Linked DNA regions of Homo sapiens: all the other regions are linked to region 3. The links are contacts of gene promoters, found by promoter capture Hi-C in blood cells and fetal thymus (Javierre and others, 2016). All regions are on one chromosome and are shown on one strand. The core of a region is centred on a gene start or on the middle of the fragment in contact, and the rest is flanking DNA. Distances in the headings are between cores, read along the strand shown.

The links. Contacts are between HindIII fragments. The CHiCAGO score rates a contact against its expected background, and 5 or more counts as called.
Region 1: a contact is called between the fragment with the promoter of YWHAQ here and the fragment with the promoter of KLF11 in region 3, in 1 of 17 cell types (naive CD8 T cells). The highest score is 5.8, in naive CD8 T cells.
Region 2: a fragment that was not itself captured here is called in contact with the fragment with the promoter of KLF11 in region 3 in 1 of 17 cell types (monocytes); the score reaches 5.6 in monocytes.

The regions. Positions count from the first base shown.
Region 1 is chr2:9,629,586-9,632,285 of GRCh38, reverse strand. YWHAQ (tyrosine 3-monooxygenase/tryptophan 5-monooxygenase activation protein theta) reads left to right here and starts at 1,289. Exons shown (of 6, transcript NM_006826.4): 1 at 1,289-1,345; 2 at 1,752-2,127. The coding sequence starts at 1,834. RefSeq lists silencers at 968-1,137, 1,188-1,287, 1,488-1,837 and enhancers at 1,958-2,057, 1,801-2,700. The HindIII fragment of the contact is 4,477 bases long and covers 1-2,488 here.
Region 2 is chr2:10,399,606-10,402,305 of GRCh38, reverse strand. The region is part of intron 2 of HPCAL1 (hippocalcin like 1); the gene reads right to left. Among named protein-coding and RNA genes, the nearest start is that of SNORA80B, 46 kb to the left of the region's middle. The HindIII fragment of the contact is 1,996 bases long and covers 418-2,413 here.
Region 3 is chr2:10,042,100-10,044,799 of GRCh38, reverse strand. It overlaps KLF11 (KLF transcription factor 11), which reads right to left and starts at 1,250. Exons shown (of 4, transcript NM_003597.5): 1 at 1,042-1,250. The coding sequence starts at 1,083. It overlaps KLF11-DT (KLF11 divergent transcript), which reads left to right and starts at 1,399. Exons shown (of 3, transcript NR_135558.1): 1 at 1,399-1,490; 2 at 1,796-2,167. RefSeq lists silencers at 557-626, 667-716, 837-886, 1,177-1,406 and a promoter at 1,093-1,992. The HindIII fragment of the contact is 6,616 bases long and covers 222-2,700 here.

The sequences.
Region 1 (2,700 bases), core at 40-2,539, 410 kb after region 3:
AATTCTTTATGATCCATTCTCCTTAGACCTGCTGGAATCGGGATCATAGCAGCGTGAACCCAGAGGGCAATTCTCATCTTAAGATGGCACAGGGACCACGCGCCAGACGGGCAGGGCAGCCACCCTACCTGGATGGAGTTAGGGAACTGGGGAAGTGCAAGGAGAGACAGGAGTGGTTTAAGAGGAAAGGGAGCTGCCAGGGATGACCCTGAATGGGAGGGGCCTGGGGGAATCTTTCTCGCTTCAGCAGGGTGTTCCCCAGGAGGAGAAAATCAGAAATCAACATCCAGGGAGAGGATTTCAGCTTTTCAAGTGACCTCTCACAAATAATACCAGAAACAAAAGCGTGTGCACATGTGACAACGATGTGAAAAATGATGTATTTAGGTGCATAACCTGGAAAGCCTAAAAGATACATAAAAATTGCTTTTTTTTTGCGGGGAGAGATGTTATGGGCAGGGTTTTTTTTTGCGGGGGTGGGAAGGGGTAGTAATAGGTGTTTTCCTGCAAATTGTGCTTAATGTCATTTCTCATTTTAAAGAAAACCACAATACTTGGCATTGTCACAGAAACTCCCCTGGATCTTCTGGGACCTACCTTTTCACAAGGGAATTTTTTGTTTTAGGATGCCCATCTGAAAACTTGAATTTATCATGTAAATGCCATACTGAAGACACCGTCTCCAGAATCAATTCTTCTTTAATGGGGATGCGGTTTGCTTAATTCGGAGCCCTAATGGCAACGTCATTAAGGTCTGGGTTTAGTGTCTTGGGATCCAAACCTTTGTCACGGATAGAAAGGTGGAGGAAAGAAAGGCCCCCGTGCTCTAAAACAGCTGAATATGTCACCCTCCGAAGTCCAGCCTCGGCCAGAGCCCGTGAGATGCAATGCACCATCCGCAGCGGGAGACGCAGCCGCCGCCTAGGAGGTCGTGCGCGCCTCTGGGTCTCGTGCCGCACCCAGAAGTGCCGGGGTGGCGGGGAGGCTGAGGGGAGTTGGTAACGGCATCGCCATGGCAACAGTGACGTCCTTTTACCCTGGATCTAATTGGAGGAAACCCCGTGGCCGAAGCCGCAGCCTGCCGGCCAACCGAACTTCCCCGTACCGACCCACCCTCCTAGCCTCCGCGTTCCCTCCCGCTCCGCCCCCCTCGCCCCCTTCCGCGCGCTCGGTCCTCATTGGCCAGCGGCGCGCTGGGGGCGGGACTCTCGGGAGAAGCTCGGCGCATCATTGGGCGGTGGACCGCCCCTCGGCCCCGGGGTAGGCTGACACGGGAGGGTCCTCAGCTAAAGCCAAAAGCAGATCAAAGTGGTGGGACTCGCGTCGCGGCCGCGGAGACGTGAAGGTGAGCGCCTGGGTCGGCCCGCGGGCTTCCTCCGGCCGCGCTCGGATTGAGGGCCGGGCGGAGGTGCCGCCCTTGAGAGCAGCCGGTTGTCGATGCCGCTCCCCTCAGGGACGGCTCCGGGCGGGAAGGTGCGGGGCCAACGGTCGCTTCCATCTTGGGCCGGCCGGGCGGGGGTGGCGGGAGCGGCCGCGGCTCGGGCTCCCTGCGCGCGGGGCCTCCGCGCCGCCCCCGCCTCCTCCAGCCGCGGGCCGCGGCCTCCCCGGGTGCCCAGCGGGGGAGGGGGCGGGGGAGAGGGAAATTCAAGCGGCCGCGTGTGCGGGAGACAAAAGCGGGCGGCGGGCCGCATTGTCTGACGGCGCTCCCTCTCTGCTTTTTGTTCTCGCCTCGCCGCCCCGCCCCTCCGCAGCTCTCGAGGCTCCTCCCGCTGCGGGTCGGCGCTCGCCCTCGCTCTCCTCGCCCTCCGCCCCGGCCCCGGCCCCGCGCCCGCCATGGAGAAGACTGAGCTGATCCAGAAGGCCAAGCTGGCCGAGCAGGCCGAGCGCTACGACGACATGGCCACCTGCATGAAGGCAGTGACCGAGCAGGGCGCCGAGCTGTCCAACGAGGAGCGCAACCTGCTCTCCGTGGCCTACAAGAACGTGGTCGGGGGCCGCAGGTCCGCCTGGAGGGTCATCTCTAGCATCGAGCAGAAGACCGACACCTCCGACAAGAAGTTGCAGCTGATTAAGGACTATCGGGAGAAAGTGGAGTCCGAGCTGAGATCCATCTGCACCACGGTGCTGGTGAGTCCTCGGCGCGGGGAGCAGGGGAGGCCTTTTGTGAGATGCTTTTCATTGAGAGTTTCGCGGGCACGGAAACAAACGTGAGCCGGGGCTTGCCGGACTGTCTGCTGGGGTGGAGGGTTTTAGGTGAGCCCTGACTTCCCTACTGTGTCCCTCCGGTTGTTGAGACTCAAGAAGCCGCTTTTCCAAGGATAAGTCCTTTTTTTTCGCCCCAGATGCTGGGTAGCTACCAAACGATGGAACTTGGAAACATCCAAGTAGGTCTCTGCGAGACTGAAAGGCGTTTTTAAGTTTCTTGTGCGGGGAGACTGCGTCCTGAGATCTGTGAGCCCTTTAAATGTATTCAGTCGGTTCACAAGCTTCAGGCAGTTGAAAGAAGGCGCAGGCACCTTTTTGTTACAGACAATGTAGTAGGGATTTTTTCCCAAACCCAGTAATGGAAATTTACTTAGAAAATCTGAACAGATACTTTATTTTTCAAGTAAGAGTATCTGTTGTGCTCCCCCCCACCCCCCATAAACAGGAGAGGAGGGGAGTTCGGGAAATGTGAAAAGGACACAGCTGTATCTGAAG
Region 2 (2,700 bases), core at 166-2,665, 360 kb before region 3:
GCTGGGAAGACACCGAAGTGTAAAACGCCCTCAGAGCGCTTCCAGTCTGGTCGGGAAAGCAAGACAGGAACTCCTTCTTTCCTTCTCCTACCAAGGTTCAGTTCCTGGCCGGGTGCGGTGACTCATGCCTGCAATCCCAGCACTTTGGGAGGCCGAGGCGGGCAGATTACCTGAGGTCAGGAGTTCAAGACCAGCCTGGCCAAGATGGTGAAACCCCGTCTCTACTCAAAATACAAAAATTAGCCGGGCGTGGTGGTGCGCGCCTGTAATCCCAGCTACTCAGGAGGCTGAGGCAGAGAATCGCTTGAACCCAGGAGGCGGAGCTTGCAGTGAGCTGAGATCACACCACTGCACTCCAGCCTGGGAGACACAGCGAGACTGTCTCAAAAAACAAAAACAACAACAACAGCAAAAGCTTCAGTTCCTGCTCTGAGCCTGGCGCCGGGCTTGGGTGCTGGATGGCAGAGGGAGACAGCATTCCAACATGGACCAGCAGCCTCAAGCCTCCAGCTTCCCAGCTGGGCCCCAGTTCTCTCCTGACCCTTTTCCCAAGGACAGAGAGCTGGGTTCCATTTACCCAGGGTGTGGCTAGGAATAATCCCATAACCAATTATTAGCACAGCGCCTAGAACACAGGAAGCACACAGTAATTGTTTGACGAGAGGCAGGAAGGAAGTCAAGGAGGGAGAGAGAAGGTCCGGGTGATCTAGGCGCTCCTTACAGACAACTTCCAAATCCTCTGCAGATCCGGCCTTGGAATAGTGGATCTTCGGCCACCGCGGCACTGTCTGTGCACCCTCCGAGAGCCCCATCAGACACATTCTAGCCCAGATAGTCTCTAGCCTCAGCAAAAGAGCCAGTTTCCCGGAGACCCTCTGGGGGCCTAGGAACACCCAAAAGAACAGATATTTGCTAAACATCGTCTATGATCCCAGTGATTACTTCTAAGCTAAAAATTTGCACATGGGGTCTGAGAAGTCCAAGAATATTCTAGGGGGTAACTGAGAGAAAACGTGTAATCTGGGCTGTCCCAGAAATACCAGGCCCTGTGCCTGGTGTGGTGCTGGATGCCTGGGGAAGGGGAGCAAAGATCACTGTGGACTCCACCTAGAGAGGCCGGTGACATGGGTGGGGAGGAGCCTGGCTGGCTCGGACCTGGCCTGGAGACCCGGGGCCAGCAGGCAGCAAGGTCAGGGGAGTGTCCTTGTGCAGCCTCGGCTGTGGCTGCCTGTGTGGCTGAGCAGACTAAGGGGCAGGTCAGCCGCCCTTCCTTCCACCTCTGCCTGGCATCTCCCAACCAGATGGGGAGGCTAGGCCGGTCTTGCTCATGTGGGATCTGGATGCAGCCCTTCACACAGAGCCCGACATGGAGCAGATGCTCCGGAGATGCTGACGGCTAGGATTCCCCCGCCAGGCACCTGGCGGTCCTGCAGAAGGGCCAGGACAATGTCCCCAGCCCTCCACCAATTCCAGGGCAGATGAGAATGCCAAGTTGTGCCTGCCCACAATGTGTGTATGTGTGTGCGTGTGTGTATGTGTGCATGTGGGTGTGTACGTGTGTGCAGGCACGTGTCTGCCCACAATGCTTGTCAGACAGGATCTGCCCTCCGTGGCTGAGGGCTGGAGGGGACGACCACAGGAAGTGATACTGCCAAGTCATCCCAAGTCACCCTAAATATAACCCTCAATGTACAACACAGGAGGATTGTCCCTTCCCCGCTGCCCTGCCTCATGACCAGCGTCTGCCTAGGAGGGCACTTCCAGAAAGGCCGCTCAGATGGCTCTCTGAGATGCCCGCCTGGGATCCACGGCCTGGCCAGCACTAGAGGGGAGGCAAGCCTGGGGTCCTGCTCTTCCGGCCCCAAATCTCCATGGCCCTGTTCATCTAACTTCTTCCAGAAGAATTGTTGGCTACACAAATCACTATGAGCAACAATGATCTCTTAAGCCTGGGAGGAGGCATCCTTATTTAAGGGACACAGAGGGCTGCCGTATGGTGGGGGTCTGGCTGTGCCGAGATGCTGCTCGCACCTGTCTTCCTCAGCGGTCGGGGTTGCCAGCGTCCTGCCCCTCAGGTGTGACCCACTCCGACCTGGCTGAGCCGCCTGCTCGCCCCCTCCTTGCCACGGGTGCACGTCTGCCACAGGCCCTTTGCACCAGCTGCTCCTTAGCTAGAAGCACGCCCGTCCCTGACCTCCTGCAGGCCTTTGGTCAGGTCTCATCTCAGGAAGGCCTTCCCCAAGCACTCTATCCAAAACCGACACTCATTCTTTATCCCCTTTCCAGCTTGATCCTTTCTCTCATTTCTGTTTTGTTGAGTTCACTGTCTGTCTCCCCTTGAGTGGAGCTCAAGGTCCTTGGGGCCAGGTTTACTCTGGTCTGTTCTCCATCAGAAGCCCAGAGCCTGGAAGCTTGTCTGACACAGGGTACGTGCTCCATGAACCCACCTCAAGGGAAGGAACGCATGAGTGTCTGGGGACGTGGAGAGGGAGGCTGGTAGGGGAGGCTGGGACTCGAGCCTTAGTATGCAGGTGCTGCTTCTCCACTGCCCGGGGAGCGGCCTGCTGTACATGACCAAGGGCCAGGGGCAGAGAGAAGCGGAAGGCCCTTCCAGTGCCCATCACCTGACCCACAACATCCACGGCCAATGGTGTGAATGTGCTGGAAAGTGCCTTCTGATCCCAGAGTCCCTCAACTCGT
Region 3 (2,700 bases), core at 1-2,500:
AGAAAACTAAGCCGGGGGCGAGAGGGTGATATTACTCTGAGAAGAGTAATACCCCTCCCTCCCAGGGAGGTTACAGTGGGCCGAGATCGCGCGCCCACTGCACTCCGGCCTGGGCGATAGAGCGAGACTCCCTATCAAAAAAAAAAAAAAGGAAAGGAAACTTTAAATGTACGAAGATACACGTTTCCTCTCTATCTGCCATGCACCAAAGCATCAAAGCTTTCCGTCTGCCGAGGTTCCCCGAGATCAAACAAGACGAGGCCACCTCAAATCCCCGGCCTCTGTCCCGCAGGCTGCGCCACTAAACCCCCTGTGATGTCACAGAACCGGGCGCCGAGGCCGACTCACCACACGGGCGGGAAGGGGCTCGCCCGGCCCACAGTGCCCGCACACCACGAGGCCCGCGCTCTGCCCACGTCCACGGCTACCTCCCCGAAGCCCCCAGGTCGCGACGCTTAGGGCCCCCAACGCTCGCGTGCCGCGTTCCCGCCTCCAAGCGTTGCCCCGCCTCCAAGGCAGTGCGGCGCTCCCGCCTCCCGTCGTTGCCCCGGCCCCTAGACCTTGCCCGCCCCCAGGCCCGAGCGGCACTACCGCTAGCCGCTCTTAACCCGCCCGACGGCCGCGTGCCCCGCCCCCAAAACCGTGCCGCGTTCCCGCCAGCAGCTCTTGCCCCGCCCCCAAGGCCGCGTGCCGCGTTCCCGCCAGCCGCTCCCCCGCCCAACGGCCGTCCGGCTCACAGGACCGGGGTGACGTCATGGCTGGAAATAGCCGCGGGGCCAGCGGGGCGGGGCCGCCCAGGAAGCGCAAGACAAAGCTGCGCGGGGAACACGCCCCCTCCTCGCCCCCGCCGACCCGGGCGCGCCCGTCGCGGCCGCCGCCCCGCCCGGCTCCGGAGCCCGCCCAGGCCCCTACCGGCGCGGCCGCAGCGAAGCCCTGCACGCCCCACCTCCCGCATTTACAGGCGCGCGAGTGCCGCACCACTTCCCCCGCCTCGCCCCTCGCTCAGACGAGTAGTCCCGCCGCGGCAGCCCCACCACTCACTGCGCGCGCGTCGTCTGGGCCTGCGAAGTCCGGCGTGTGCATCGTGCAGGCCGGCCGGGAGCAACAAAGCGGCCGCGGGGCGTGAGCTCGGGCGCAGCAGCGGCCGCACGTGGGCTGCGGGCGGCGGCGGCGGCGGCAACCCGGAGCTCCTGCGGCCGGCACGCGCCTCGCCCGCCCGCGCGGCTCTGCCCCGGCGCGGCCCTCGCGGCGCGGGAGGGGCGGGGCGGCCGCGGAGGGAGCGGCTGGCGGGGCGGGGCGCGGAGGCGAACCAAAATACACCGCGCCCCTGCCGGGGCGGGGCCGGCCACCACCAGCCAATTCGTGCCCGGCCGGCCAATGAGCGCCGCGGGGGGCCGCGTGATCGGAGCCTGGCCGCGGCGTGATCGGGCAGGGCGGGACGCGGCACGTGTTTTGGTCGGAGCGAGGGGCGGGGCCTGAGGCCCTGGAAAGTAAGGGAAAGGTCGCAGCGGCGCCAGGGGCAAGCGGGGCGGAGGGGGCGGCGGGGGCGGAGGGGGCGGCGGGGGCGGAGGGGGCGGCGGGGCGGCGGGGGCGGCGGGGCGGAGGGGGCGGGGCGGCGGCTGGGGAAATCCCAGGGCCGGGGCCGGACTCGGTGCGGGGAGAGGGGACCACGCTTATAGGAACCTCCTGCAGCCCCACCGGCTGAATCCATCGGTAGCGGAGACCCACCTAGAGGCCTCAACCTGGCTTTTGTTTGGTTGTTTTTAACTTCTGTCATTCTCCCTTCGTCTCTTAGGAATGCGTCCTTGACCGGAGAGGTCGGAAAGCTGGCCGGTTCTAGGTGACATTCCTGCATCCGGTCATTTTTGCAGACAGCGGGAGTCAGAGCTTATTGGCCTGAGTGTCCCGCTGACGCCCCTCCTCTGGCGTCTCTGGGCCTCTTCCGCTCTGTTACGGGGTCAGGGGAAGCCGAAACGGGCAGTCACCCAGAAGGCGCCCGCTGAAACCCGCCCATTCTTCCCAGGCCCCGAGAAAACGCCGCCCCCTCCGGGAAGTCCTCGAGCCTGCAGGAGACATCTAGCCCGCTGTCCAGGGCACCTTTTTTTTTCTCCCTATATTTCGGTTGCTCGCGTCTCTTGGTGTGGTTTGCCCACGTCTGCAGCGCCAGGTTCGTGGAGAGCAGGAACCATGCTGTTTATTTTCGTCGCCGCAGCCTTCAGCTCAGCGAGGAGCCACCCCTCCTCCGTCTGTTCACTGCGCGCGCCTTTGCTGAGCTGTGATGCGGGTTGGCGCTCAGTGCAAGGGGCAGAGGCCGCAGTGAGGAATCCTCCTTTTTTAAAAGCTCCATCCAGGGAGCGGGAGCAGAGAGAGAATCCCGGCACCCCGGGGCTTTGCTCTGAGCGAGAGAATTCTGGTCTTAGGGGAACGGGCTGGGCCCCACCACTCACATGAGCAGGACTCTGGTCCCCACTTGTTCCTTCGGGGCCCACTCGGGTTGGGCAGAGGGGTTGACCAGGCTGAGGAGAGGGTGTTTGCTGAAATAGTAAGAGGGTTTAAGACGAAAGAACCGTGATAAACTGCTCGCATGAAGACCCCGGAGGCTCTGAGAGGGGCGCAGGGTGTTCTGTGTGTAAAAAGTTAAGTCTTAAGATACACACTGGAATATTCTCTTTTGCCTGGACTCCTGCATTCGCCTTATAA